Linked DNA regions of Homo sapiens: region 1 is linked to region 2. The links are contacts of gene promoters, found by promoter capture Hi-C in human tissues and cell types (Jung and others, 2019). All regions are on one chromosome and are shown on one strand. The core of a region is centred on a gene start or on the middle of the fragment in contact, and the rest is flanking DNA. Distances in the headings are between cores, read along the strand shown. Region 1 overlaps CSMD2 (CUB and Sushi multiple domains 2). Region 2 holds the start of CSMD2 (CUB and Sushi multiple domains 2).

What was found. Contacts are between HindIII fragments. The study calls those that stand out against the background at their distance.
Region 1: a contact is called between a fragment that was not itself captured here and the fragment with the promoter of CSMD2 in region 2, in 1 of the 25 tissues and cell types used here (dorsolateral prefrontal cortex).

What each region holds. Positions count from the first base shown.
Region 1 is chr1:33,871,527-33,876,865 of GRCh38, reverse strand. The region is part of intron 5 of CSMD2 (CUB and Sushi multiple domains 2); the gene reads left to right. It overlaps CSMD2-AS1 (CSMD2 antisense RNA 1), which reads right to left. Exons shown (of 8, transcript NR_038372.1): 4 at 1,274-1,400. Among named protein-coding and RNA genes, the nearest start is that of CSMD2-AS1, 5.2 kb to the right of the region's middle. The HindIII fragment of the contact is 6,085 bases long and covers 1-5,339 here.
Region 2 is chr1:34,163,770-34,169,565 of GRCh38, reverse strand. CSMD2 (CUB and Sushi multiple domains 2) reads left to right here and starts at 4,336. Exons shown (of 71, transcript NM_001281956.2): 1 at 4,336-4,655. The coding sequence starts at 4,469. It also overlaps a transcript of C1orf94 not described here. The HindIII fragment of the contact is 8,389 bases long and covers 1-5,796 here.

The DNA of each region.
Region 1 (5,339 bases), core at 1,734-4,233, 290 kb after region 2:
GAGCCAAGCAAGCAGCTTAGACCCATTCACAAGCAAAAGTCTGGGGCCTTGAGAGTTCCAGGGCATTAAATCACCATCAGAATAAGACTAGGGTCTTGAAGCTCATGATCTGGAGCACTTAGAGTGGACAAGGAGCAATGACCCCACAGCTACTATGACACATGGTAGAGTGTGGGTGCTGCAGCCAGGATGCCTGAGTTCTGCTACTTGATAGCTGTGTGACCTCAAGCAAGTCGCCTAACCTCTCTGTGTCTCCATCTTCTCACCTGCAAGCCACAGGTTATAAAGGGTTGCTGTAATAGATGAGTAAATACATGCGAGGGACTTAGAACAGTGCCTGGCGTTCAGTAAATACTCAGGGCAGCATCTGTGTCCCAAGTGGTACGTAAGTTCTTTATGCCATGTCTTCTCATTCTATTCCCATATGACCCTGAGAAACAGCTTTTGGTGTTGCCATTATACATAAGAATAAAGTGAATTTCTCATGTTCGACAAATTGCCCAGGGCCACATGGCTAGTAAGTAGCAATGACAGATTCCCAAGGTAGAGATCTCTGACTACAAATCCTGTGTTCTATCTCTTGACCAGTTCCCCTCATGGTCAGGCTGGCTTCCCGTAATTACAAACTCTCCCCTTTAGTTCCCTCTGTTGTCTCTTGATGCTCACTTGACTTTCAGGGACTCTGGAATCTCTGCTGCTTCCCAGCTGTGAGACAACTAAGACCAGGCAATCTGTCTTTGCCTCAATTTCTTTATTTCTGTAAACTGGCATAGTAACAGGGCCTGCTGAGAAGGAGAACAGCAGCCCCTGATGGCTGCAAGCTGGCCTGGCACTATCAGTAAGGCCTTTTGCTGCCGAGAGCTGGCCTGGCACCTACACCTAGACCTTGGGGTTCTCCTGTTGACCATAAACAATTTCACTGAATGTCAATGCCGGACAAAACCACTCTAGGACCCTGATAGATGAAGACAAAAACAAGACCATTTCAACATCATGAATTCAGACAAAAACAAGAACATTATTCAAAATACAAAGATGACTTAACAGCCCCCCTCCCTCCACCTCTTGGCTGATGTGAGTGATGGCTGCTTCTTTACCAATTACAACTCTTATCTTCCTTCATTCCTCCTGCCTTGTAAATAAAATTTATGAAGTACCCAACCAGAGAATTACACCTACCTCCAGTCTCCAATCCAGGGCAAAGCTCTGCTTCCTTGAACCCTCCCCCAATTAACTAACACAAGCCCGAATCCTACAGTGAATTATTTCTTACCTTCTTACTGAGACACTGCACAGCTCCCTGTGGTGTGCATTCTCCCTCACTGCCACCAGTCAGCAAACCCAACTTTGTTCAACTACAGGGAGGTCCATGGTGGTCATTGGCCGGGGGCTGACACTGCCTCTAGAATTATACGTGATGATATCTGGAGAACACTTAGAAATAGGGCTTAGTCCATAGTAAACGCCCAAAACATGTCAGTCATGAGCATGACATTTATTATAAGAAATACCCTTCCTCTTTGGACAGAGCTAAGGAGCATACATTTGCTCTCACTAACCAGCCCCCTTCTTTTCTGAAGTCCATGCAGTTCCCCCGCCCCTTATGTTTGCCCTGGGCACTGAAGCATTCTCTTTTTGCATTTCACAGATCTTCACACTGCAGACCTCAAACCTAGAAAAATCTGTTTTGCCCATGACATTGGAGGCTGTTGTCTGCCCTGTCTCTGGGATCCCAATGAAGGACATCCTCTCAGGGTATTTAGACAGCATAGAGGGGTGGGAGTGGGGGCTAGATGAGCAGTGGACTGATGATCAGGCCTTGGCGGCCCTTTCCCACTTCCTGGCAGAGTAGATACTTTGCACATGGAAGTTCCCTCACCCACTTGCCAGGGCTGTGCGGGCCAGAGGAGCCTGGCCAGATTCTTCATCACAAATGTACTCGCAGCTGCATCAGTGAGGGACAGCCCCAGGGACCACAGAGTTCTTCCATGCCCACTGCTGCTAATTAGAGATAATACATTAAAAATACAGAGCCGCATCTGTTCGTTGTAACATGGGTATCGAGGAATTTACGTGGTTTATAATGACAGAGTGTGGGGAGAGGAAAATGCTGATTCTGTCTGGGAGCCAGAGGCACAGCTGTGGGCGAAGAGCTGGAGGTGTGGTTTCTGGTGCCCATCAAACTCTCTGGGTGCTAACCAAGCCCTCCCTTTGAGACACCCAGGGATAGATCCAGGTACTTATCTGGAAATACCAAGCTAGGTAACATGACCAGTCAAGCACAAAGTGGATGTCCAGATGCCCAGGAGGCCTTCTGGCCCACATGCAAAATACATGTCCCTTCCACACACAAAATACAAATACTCTGGTATTTGCAAAGAGTTCTTGAGAGAAGGGAGACACAGGACAGAAGAAAAAACATGCTTCTCATGATTCAATTGTTCATTTTCCATCAAACATGAACTGAGCACCTAACCTGCTGTTCAAGTTGTCTGTAAAATGGGGTGTTTAAAGTACCGCTCTCATTGAATGTTTTTCTTAAGTAAAATAATTGCATTAAATGGCTTCAAACAGTACCCAAATCATCTAACACAAGCCCAAATCCTGCAATGAATTATTTCTTACCAGGTATGATGTAGGCATTCAATAAAAGTGTGCTATTATCATTCTACTCCATGTGACGCATTGTGTTAAATTTTAGAGCACTGTGATGAATAAGGCAAGATCCCTTCCCTTCTCTACCAGTTGAGGGGACAAACAGTTGCTATAATGTGCTGTGCATTGGGATGGCATTGTATGAACTTACATAAGCTATTATGGGAACACACAAGGGAGTTGGAGCATCAAAGACAGCTTCCTAGAGGAAGGGATACCTGACCTAAGTCTGTAGAACAGGTTGAAGTCTACCAGACCTAAAAGGTAGGAGAGATGAGAAGTATGTGCAAAGGCCCTGGGGAGGAGAGAGTGTAATGTTTCTGGGGAAAATGCAGTGTAGCCCGACCTTAGGGCAGGTGCGTTAGGTGTCTGTTGCTGTGTCACATATTACTCCAAAGCTTAGTGGTTTGAAACAACATTTATTAGCTCATATTTTCTCTGTGTTAGGAATGTAAGCGTAGCTTAATTGGGTTCTCTGGCTTAGGGTTTCTCATAAGGCTTCAATCAAGGTGTCCACTAGGGCGGCAGTCATCTCAAAGCTCAACTAGAGGGGAGGACAAGCTTCCAAGTTTCTTCACATAATTGTTTGCTGGATTCAGTTCCTCAGTGCTATTGACCAGAGACAGCCCTCAGTTCTTCTCCAAAGGGAAGCTTTCAACCCAGCTGCTTCATCAGAGCAAGCCAGAGAGTAGAGCCAGAGAGAGAGGATAAGACAGAAGTGACAGTCTTTTATAACCTGATATGAGAAGTGACATTCTATCACTTTTTCTGTATTCTATTCTTTAGAAGCAAATCACTAGGTCCAGCCCACACACAAAGGGAGGGGACTGCACAAGGACATGAATACCAGAAGAGAAAGAAATTTAGAGTCATTTCTGAAGCTGCCTATCACAATCTACCCTCTGGCTCTCCAATGATTCTTGTCCCTTCCACATGCAGAATACATGTCCCTTCCACACACAAAATGCAATCATCCTTCCCAAGGTCTCTAACATCTCCTCCCGTGGGAGCACCAACTGAAAGTCCAGGATCTCATCATCTAAATCAGGTGCAGGTGTGGATGAGGCTCTTGGGTATAATTCCTTAAGTACAAGTTCTAGAATACTGTTACTACAGATTTGGTGATTTGAAAAGCTAAGGAGATAAATTATCTGCCCCCCATATGCCCAACATACAATGGCAGGTTAGGTATAGAGGAATGGCTATAAACACTGCTACTCAAAGGGAGGAAAATGTGAGGAACAAAGGCGTCACTGGTCCGTAACAATTTTGAAATCCAGCCAGGAAAAGACTGCAAGTTTCTTGGTTAGGTTTCAAAGCCTGGGGATAATTCTCCATGACTCTTAGCTCCACCTTCTAAGCTCTTGGTTCTTCCCTCTGAGTAATCCTTCCTTTTTCATGAAAGGAAACCTGTGTTTAAAGCTGACTTGTTTTCTCAGCCTGTTTCCTGCTGAGAATTTTAGGGGTCCAATGGCCTCATTTTATTTTGTACTGTCTCTGTTCCTTTCTGTCCCAGCTGTGTTTCTTCTCATAGGTTTTCTCAGAAACCTTCTGGGTCTTCTGTAAATTGCACTGAGATTCCCTCTATTACACAAAAAAACAAACCCACAAATTTCTTTGAGAACTAAACTTTTCAACCTGAGCCTCTTGAAAAGATGGCCAAGGGACAGCCCCTTGGCTTCCTAGAGTCCCTATTGTTTGATCTGGAGGATCTATGAGGCCTACCCTAATCTCTTTAAAGGGCCTTTGTATGACTGAATAATACCATGATCTTTTGATCTTTCTGAAGTCTTAACCAAAGGCCCACAGTCACACCCACAGCTTTATCTCAGACCACCATTTCTTGCTCAAATGCCATTTCTTAATTTTAGCACCTTTTGCTGACTTGGGAGACTGAGAATTTTCAAAACTATCAGGTCCTGTCTCACTTTAACTTTTTTTTTTCTCTCTTCTCACATAAGCAGTAAGAAGAAATTATTTTCAACACTTTGCTTGGACATCTCCATAGCTAGATCACTAAGTTTATTAGGTACATATTTTGCTTTCCATGTAACTGCAGACAATAGTGGCACTAAGCTTTCTACCACTACCTAACAAGGATGTCCCTCCTCCATGATATGGTTTGCATGGGTCCCCCAAATGTCATGTGCTGGAAAGTTAATCCCCAATATGGTAGTGTTGAAAGGTGGGGACTTAAAGAGGTGATTGGATCATGAGAACCCTGTCTTCATGAATGGGTTAATCCATCCATGGATTAATGGGTTATCACAAGAGTGGGACTGGTGGCTTTATAAGAACAGGAAGAGGCCAGGCATGATGGCTCGTGCCGTAATCCCAGCACTTTGGGAGGCTGAGGCAGGTGGATCAGGAGTTCGAGCCCAGCCTGGCAAACACGGTGAAACCCCATCTCTATGAAAAATACGAAAATTAGCCAGATGTGGTGGCACACACCTGTAGTCCCAGCTACTTGTGAGGCTGAGACAGGAGAATCACTTGAACCCAGGAGGTGAGGGCTGTAGTGAGCCGAGATCACGCTACTACACTCCAGCCTGGGCAACAGAGCGAGACTCCATCTCAAAAACAAAACAAAAGAAGAGAGACCTGAGCAGGCACATCAACATGCTCAGTCCTCTCTGCAGACAGTCCTCACCAATAAGAAGGCTCTCACCAGATGCAGCCCTTTG
Region 2 (5,796 bases), core at 3,087-5,586:
GTCAGAATGAAAATTTCAGGGCATCAAGTCTACAGCTCCTCCTTGAATGAGGCAGAGTTCTCCAGAGCATCAGGCCTTGTATTCTTTCTAAATCAAACTCTGATTTTATCTGGATATTAGGCTTATCTTGGCTAGTCACTAGACTGCATTGGGCTTTTTTGCAATGTGATATTGTAAAGACACCTCAACCCACGACTGCCTGTTGCTCACAGGGAGAATGAGAGGGGCAGGCAGGGAGCCAGCACTTGGGGCTGGGCTGAGACCCACACTCTCCTAGGCTAGATGCGGGTAGGCTGTTATGTCTTTGACTCCTGCCTCTCCATTGCCCTGCAGATGTTTCCAGGGTCCCCATCTCTGCCTTTGCCCCCATGTTTCCTGGCTCAGACTATTGCAGTAGTCTTCTAAGTGGTACCCTTTCCTTTCTTACCCTTTCCTCACAGAGAAGTTAGAGTATATGTCAGGCCACATCACTTGGCGTCTCTTTCCCAGAAATGAAAACCTACCTTTCATATTCAGAGCTGTCTACTTTTCACTAAAGGAGCCATGCTATACACAGAAAATAAATGTAAACAGATATCTCTTTACATATATTTTCTGACTGTCAAGCATCTCTCTCCTCCCTCCATCTGAAAAGTCATCTCCTCCTGTTATAGAATGAATTGTGTGCCCCCCCACCCAAATTCATAGGTTGAAGTCCGAACCCCTAGTACTTCAGGATGTGACCTTATTTGGAGGTAGAGTCTTTAAAAAGTCAGTTAAGTCAAAATGAGGTCATTGGGTTGGGCCTTAATCCAGTATGACTGGTGTCCTGATTAGAAGTTTGGACACAGATATGTACCATGGGAACACATGTGAGGACACAGGGAGAAGAAGGCAGCCATCTACAAGCCAGAGAGAGAAGCCTCAGAGGGAACCAACTGTGTCGACCTCTTGATCTTGGACTTCCAGCCTCCAGAATTGTGAGGCAATACATTTCTGTTTTTTAAGCCACAGGGTCTATGGTACTTTGTTGTGGCAGCAGTCCTAGCAAATTAATACACCTTCTATTTCTCACTGGCTAAGAATAAAATGCAAACTCCTCGCCATCCCCTAATAGACCCTATGTGATCTGCCCCACTCCCTATCTCCCATTGCTTACCTGGATCCAGCCCCATCCTCCTCCTCCTGGCCCCCTTTCCTTTTTACAGCCTTGCCTGTGCTCACTATACCAAAAGCTCTTTCCCCAACTTTGCATGGCTGCCTTGCTTAATTCTATTATTATATTAATTAATTAATTAATTAATTCATAGACAGATAGTCTGGCTCTGTCACCCAGGCTGGAGTGCAGTGGTGTGATCATGGCTCACTGCAGCCTTGAACAGCTGGGCTCAAATGATCCTCTGGCTTTAGCCTCCTGAGCATCTTGCTTAATTTTAGATCCCATCTTCCACCGTTGCCATCTCAGAGAGGCCTTCTCAGACCATCTCCTTAAAGCACATCCCCATATTGTTTCTCCTAGCACCATAAACTTTCCTTTTGTAGCATCCTTAATTAGTAACTTTATGTGTATTTGTATACATATTTTCTGCCTTCATCAAGTCAGGGACTGTGCACTAGGTGTATATTCATTGTCTAGCACAGCACCCAGGCACATAATGATGCTCAATAAATATTTGTTGAGTAAATGAATCTTCATCTTTTCAAGGTCTTTATCCATGTCTCAGGTTCCAGACCAAATCCTACTTTCCTTCTTAAATTAGCCTTCTGATCCCCCAAGTCCAGGAAAAGCTCACTGTCTTGACATGCCTCTCGGTAGCATGCCGGTTCTTCAGTCATGGTGATTATCGCTGTCTGACGGTATCAGTTACGTGTGGGTTTCCACCTCTGGCCTGCATCCTCCCAAAGCAGGACCACACACTGTGCATCTCTGCAGGGCCCAGAGCACAGCCTCGCTCAGGGCCCCCGAGCACAGGAGGCGCTCAGTGAAAGCACGTGGACCCAAATAGATCAGAGAGCAGGAATGGCGGAGGATGTGAGTAACTGGGCCTTTTGCAGGGATAAAATAGGTGCCCTGCCCTCCACAGCCCCCAGGGAGAAGGATGACAAACGCTCCTTTTGCCCGGGAAAGTTCTGGGGGTAAATCTCATCTGCCCGTTGCAGCCACAGAGCAAAGTTCTGGAGCTGAGAAGAGGGTAAGAGAAAGCCCATTGGCCTGCAGCCCCAGAATTACAGAGCAGCCCAGACTCTCTTCTGCCCAGCTGTGGGCTGCACAGGAGGCCTGGGCATCTCTGCCAGTTCCTTTCTCTGGAGGAGAACCCCGCCTCCAAGAGAGGGGTAAAGTCGGAGCTTAGAAGCCAGGAGCCCACCCCCAGGCAAGCCCAGCTAACAGCCCCCAAGGCCACCACCACCACTCACTGCTGGCGTAGTCAGTCCCTTCCTCCTCTCCAGGGCTGGTGGGAAGGCTGAGCCCTCTCTTTCGGGGGCTGAGTCTGGACAATGGGAAGGGAGAAGCCCCCTCCTCACTGCCCCGGGAACATAAAGCAGGCCTTTCACTGAGGAGTTCTGGCTGCTTCGGTTGGTTCTTGGCACCCAGCAAGGCGGCGTCGGGAGGGGCGGGCATACAAGCGTGTTGGGGGTGGGGACCAGGCCCGCGATTCTGAGGAGATTCGCCCGCCCAGGGCCACCGGGCTGGCTCCCCAGCTGTGGGATGAGCTCATGCAGGGAAACCGGAACAACTTGGGGTGGGGGGAGGGAGGAAGAGTGGCATCTAGGAGGCTGCGAAAGCGTGGCTCTGGGGAGGAAGTTTTTCATGGGGAGTAGGGACAAGCCTCCACTCCTCCAGCCCTGCCCCCGCCCCCCAATTCATATCGTCAACTCCACAGCCCCTCTTCACACCCTTCCTTGGATGGAAATTCCTGGCCACGCTGACAGCCGGCCAACCTGGGTCGCCAGCCACCCCCAGCCTGGCTCGCCATCCCTACAGTCCCTCTCCACACCCTTCCCCGGAAATTCTCAGGCCCCACCGCCCGCCGGCCACTGCCCCCTTGGCCACACAGATGCCAACGCTCCGTTTTGGCCAAATCAGGCTGCCCTAAGCCCGGAGCACAGCTTCTCTGGGGTGTGTCGGCAAAGGGGGCGGGGGTGCCCATCGCAGGTGCCTTTCCACTGCACGCGCCAGCAGAAGCCTCCTCTCTGGACCTTGCCCCTCCCAGTTTCCTCCAGCCTCCCCCCATGAAGCGTCTCTTCCCTCTCGCCGAGAGTTTGGCGTAGACAGCGAAGGAGCCATCGTGACTGGCGGAGAAGCCTGGAGTAGACGAGACAGAGACGGCGACCGAGTCGGGTGGGGGATGGGGTGGGGACCGACACTAAGCCCTTGGGGCCTAGAGGCAGCCGCTACTGGGGAGAGGTGGGGAGCAGCTCACGTCCTTGGGAAGAACTCTCTTGGTTTGGGGCCTTGGCTGGGAGGAGGAAGGGGAGAAGAAGAAGTAGGATCCGATTATTTAAATTTGGGGATAAATTGTACTAGTAACTCTTGCACCGTCCTTCCACCAACCTCACTCCCCACCCCCAACTCGCGTGCACACAGGGACCGCCTCTGCCACCCTGAGATTTTTGTCTTAGGGTAGGAGTGGGACCGCACTGGGTCAAATGAACCGGTTCCCCCCCCTCCCCACCCCACACACAACCCCCCTCCACCGCCCTCCAATTCTTAACCCTGCCTCTGTCTACGCACACACGCCCCTCTCCTGGGATGGGGTAGGAGGCTATTGTGAATGAGGCTCATAAGCATCGCCCCCGGCCCTAGATGGCAAGTTCAAAGCCACCACCCAAGATCAGCTGGTAAGAGCCAAGACTTGGGGAACGCGTCCTTCTTTGGTTACCTTTTCCCAGACAGGATTCCAATTTCCAAACGTGGAAGAGGTGTGCGTGTATGTGCCTGTGTGTGTGAGTGCGTGTGTCTCTGTCACTGTGTGTGTGTGTGTGTGTTTGTGTGTGTGTGTGTGGAGAGGGGGGTGTATTAATGGGTGATGTTATAAATGAAAACAGGAGGACTGAACTTAAAAGAAACTGGTCAATTGCAAAACAGACACGGATAAACAACCCTTTAGATGTAATTTGTGGTTTATCTGGAGGTGGAGGTGGCGCTGAAGAGGAACCCCCGCCCCCCAATATTTTATCCTTAGCTGCGCCTCCACCCCCAGCATTTGGAGCGGCGGAGAAGCGGCTCCGGAGTGATTAATCCGGGGATAATTCACCCCCTCCCGCCCCCCGGCGCGAACCCCGCGAAGCGGGATTGGAGCGAGTCATTTCCGAGAGCGCAGCGCGCCTCTCCCCGGCCGGGCGGACACTTGGTTCATTCCAGCCGCAGAAGCTCAGGGCTCCCGCGTACCGGGATTTTTTCCGAGCAGAAAAAAGCTCCAGAGCTCTCCTGACCTCCTTTCTCCTCGGCGGCGAGCGGAGCCTCTCCCTCGGCGCTGCCGGCCGCGCCATGCCGCGCTCGCGGGGACGGGAGCTGGGGCGCTGCGGCTGCCCCGCGGGGAGGGCTCGCGGCGAAACCGGGATTTCGGCGCTTGTGCCGGGCGCCGGGAGCCGCTGGGGCCGCCCGCCGCCGCCAACGCCGCCGCCTCTGCTGCTGTTGCTGGGCTGTGGGTTGCTCAGCGTCTCGGCCGCCGCGGGTGAGTCCAGCCGCGCCGAGGAGCCAGCGGCCGCCGCGCGCCCCACCCGAGCCCCGAGCCCACCCATCCTCGACCCGGTCCCAGTCCCTCCCCCCGCCTCTATCCCTGCCTGAATCTCCCACCCTCCCAGTTGCCTACTCTCATTCTCATCCCTGCCTCCGTCTCCCACCCCACCCTCAGCCACGTCCTCACCTCCACCCTCACCCTCACTGCTGCCCCAACCCCAGCCGCAACTTGGACGGATGCGGCCGGTGTGGGGGCCTGGGAGACAGACATCCCCGCCCGGGGTTGCGGGGCACCTGGTCTGTGGCTTCAGTTTCTCCAGCCTCCCAGCCCCCACGGTGCTAGGCTTTTTCCCGATAAACTTTCCGGGAGCCCTACTCCCCCGGCTCCTGATTCTGCCAGGCACGCTGGTCCTGGGGGCTGGAGAGGAACCGTGCGCCCCCTCCCCATTTCTGCGTCTGCAAGGTCTGCCCTTCCCTGCCCCCGCCCATTTTCTCCAATTGAAACCGGTGCCCCCTCTGGAACCGACTGCAGACTGCGGCCGCCATCCCCCTCCTCAAATGCTACCCCTCCCTCGGCGCTCGGAGCTAGGAGGGGGTTCAGGTGGACGCGTGCCCACGGTGGGGGTCCCGCGCATTCCTTGCAGGAGGGTGCAGGTGGGGGCTGGAGGGTGTTGAGGGATGGGAAGGAGGGGGTGGGGGTTGTAGCCCGAGGCGGGGGAGGGAGTGCCGCCGCCAGGCTTCGCGCTGCCACATTCCCCTCGGTGCTCACTCCGCGCCAAAGTGCCCTTTCCCGCGCCCTGCTGCAGCCGAGCGCCTCGGCTGCGGCAGCGGCAGCGGCGGCGCGGGCGGCGGGACCAGCTCCCGACGACCGAGTCCGGGAAGGGGCAGATCTAGCGGGTGCGGAGAGTCCCGGAACTTCGCGGGTGTCTGGCTGCAGCTTGCAGCGCGCGGGGGAGGTACGCGAACCTTCGAGGGAACCCGGTCCCCTGTGGAGGCTACTGGCCGCGACTGGTGCCCTCCCGCTTTACCCACAGCACCCCTCCGAAGCTCAGTTCTAGCTACAAGCTAGAAAGTTCCGTGTGCCCGGGTGGAGACGGGTCCAAACCGGGATGCCTGGAACCGCATTTTCATTTAGC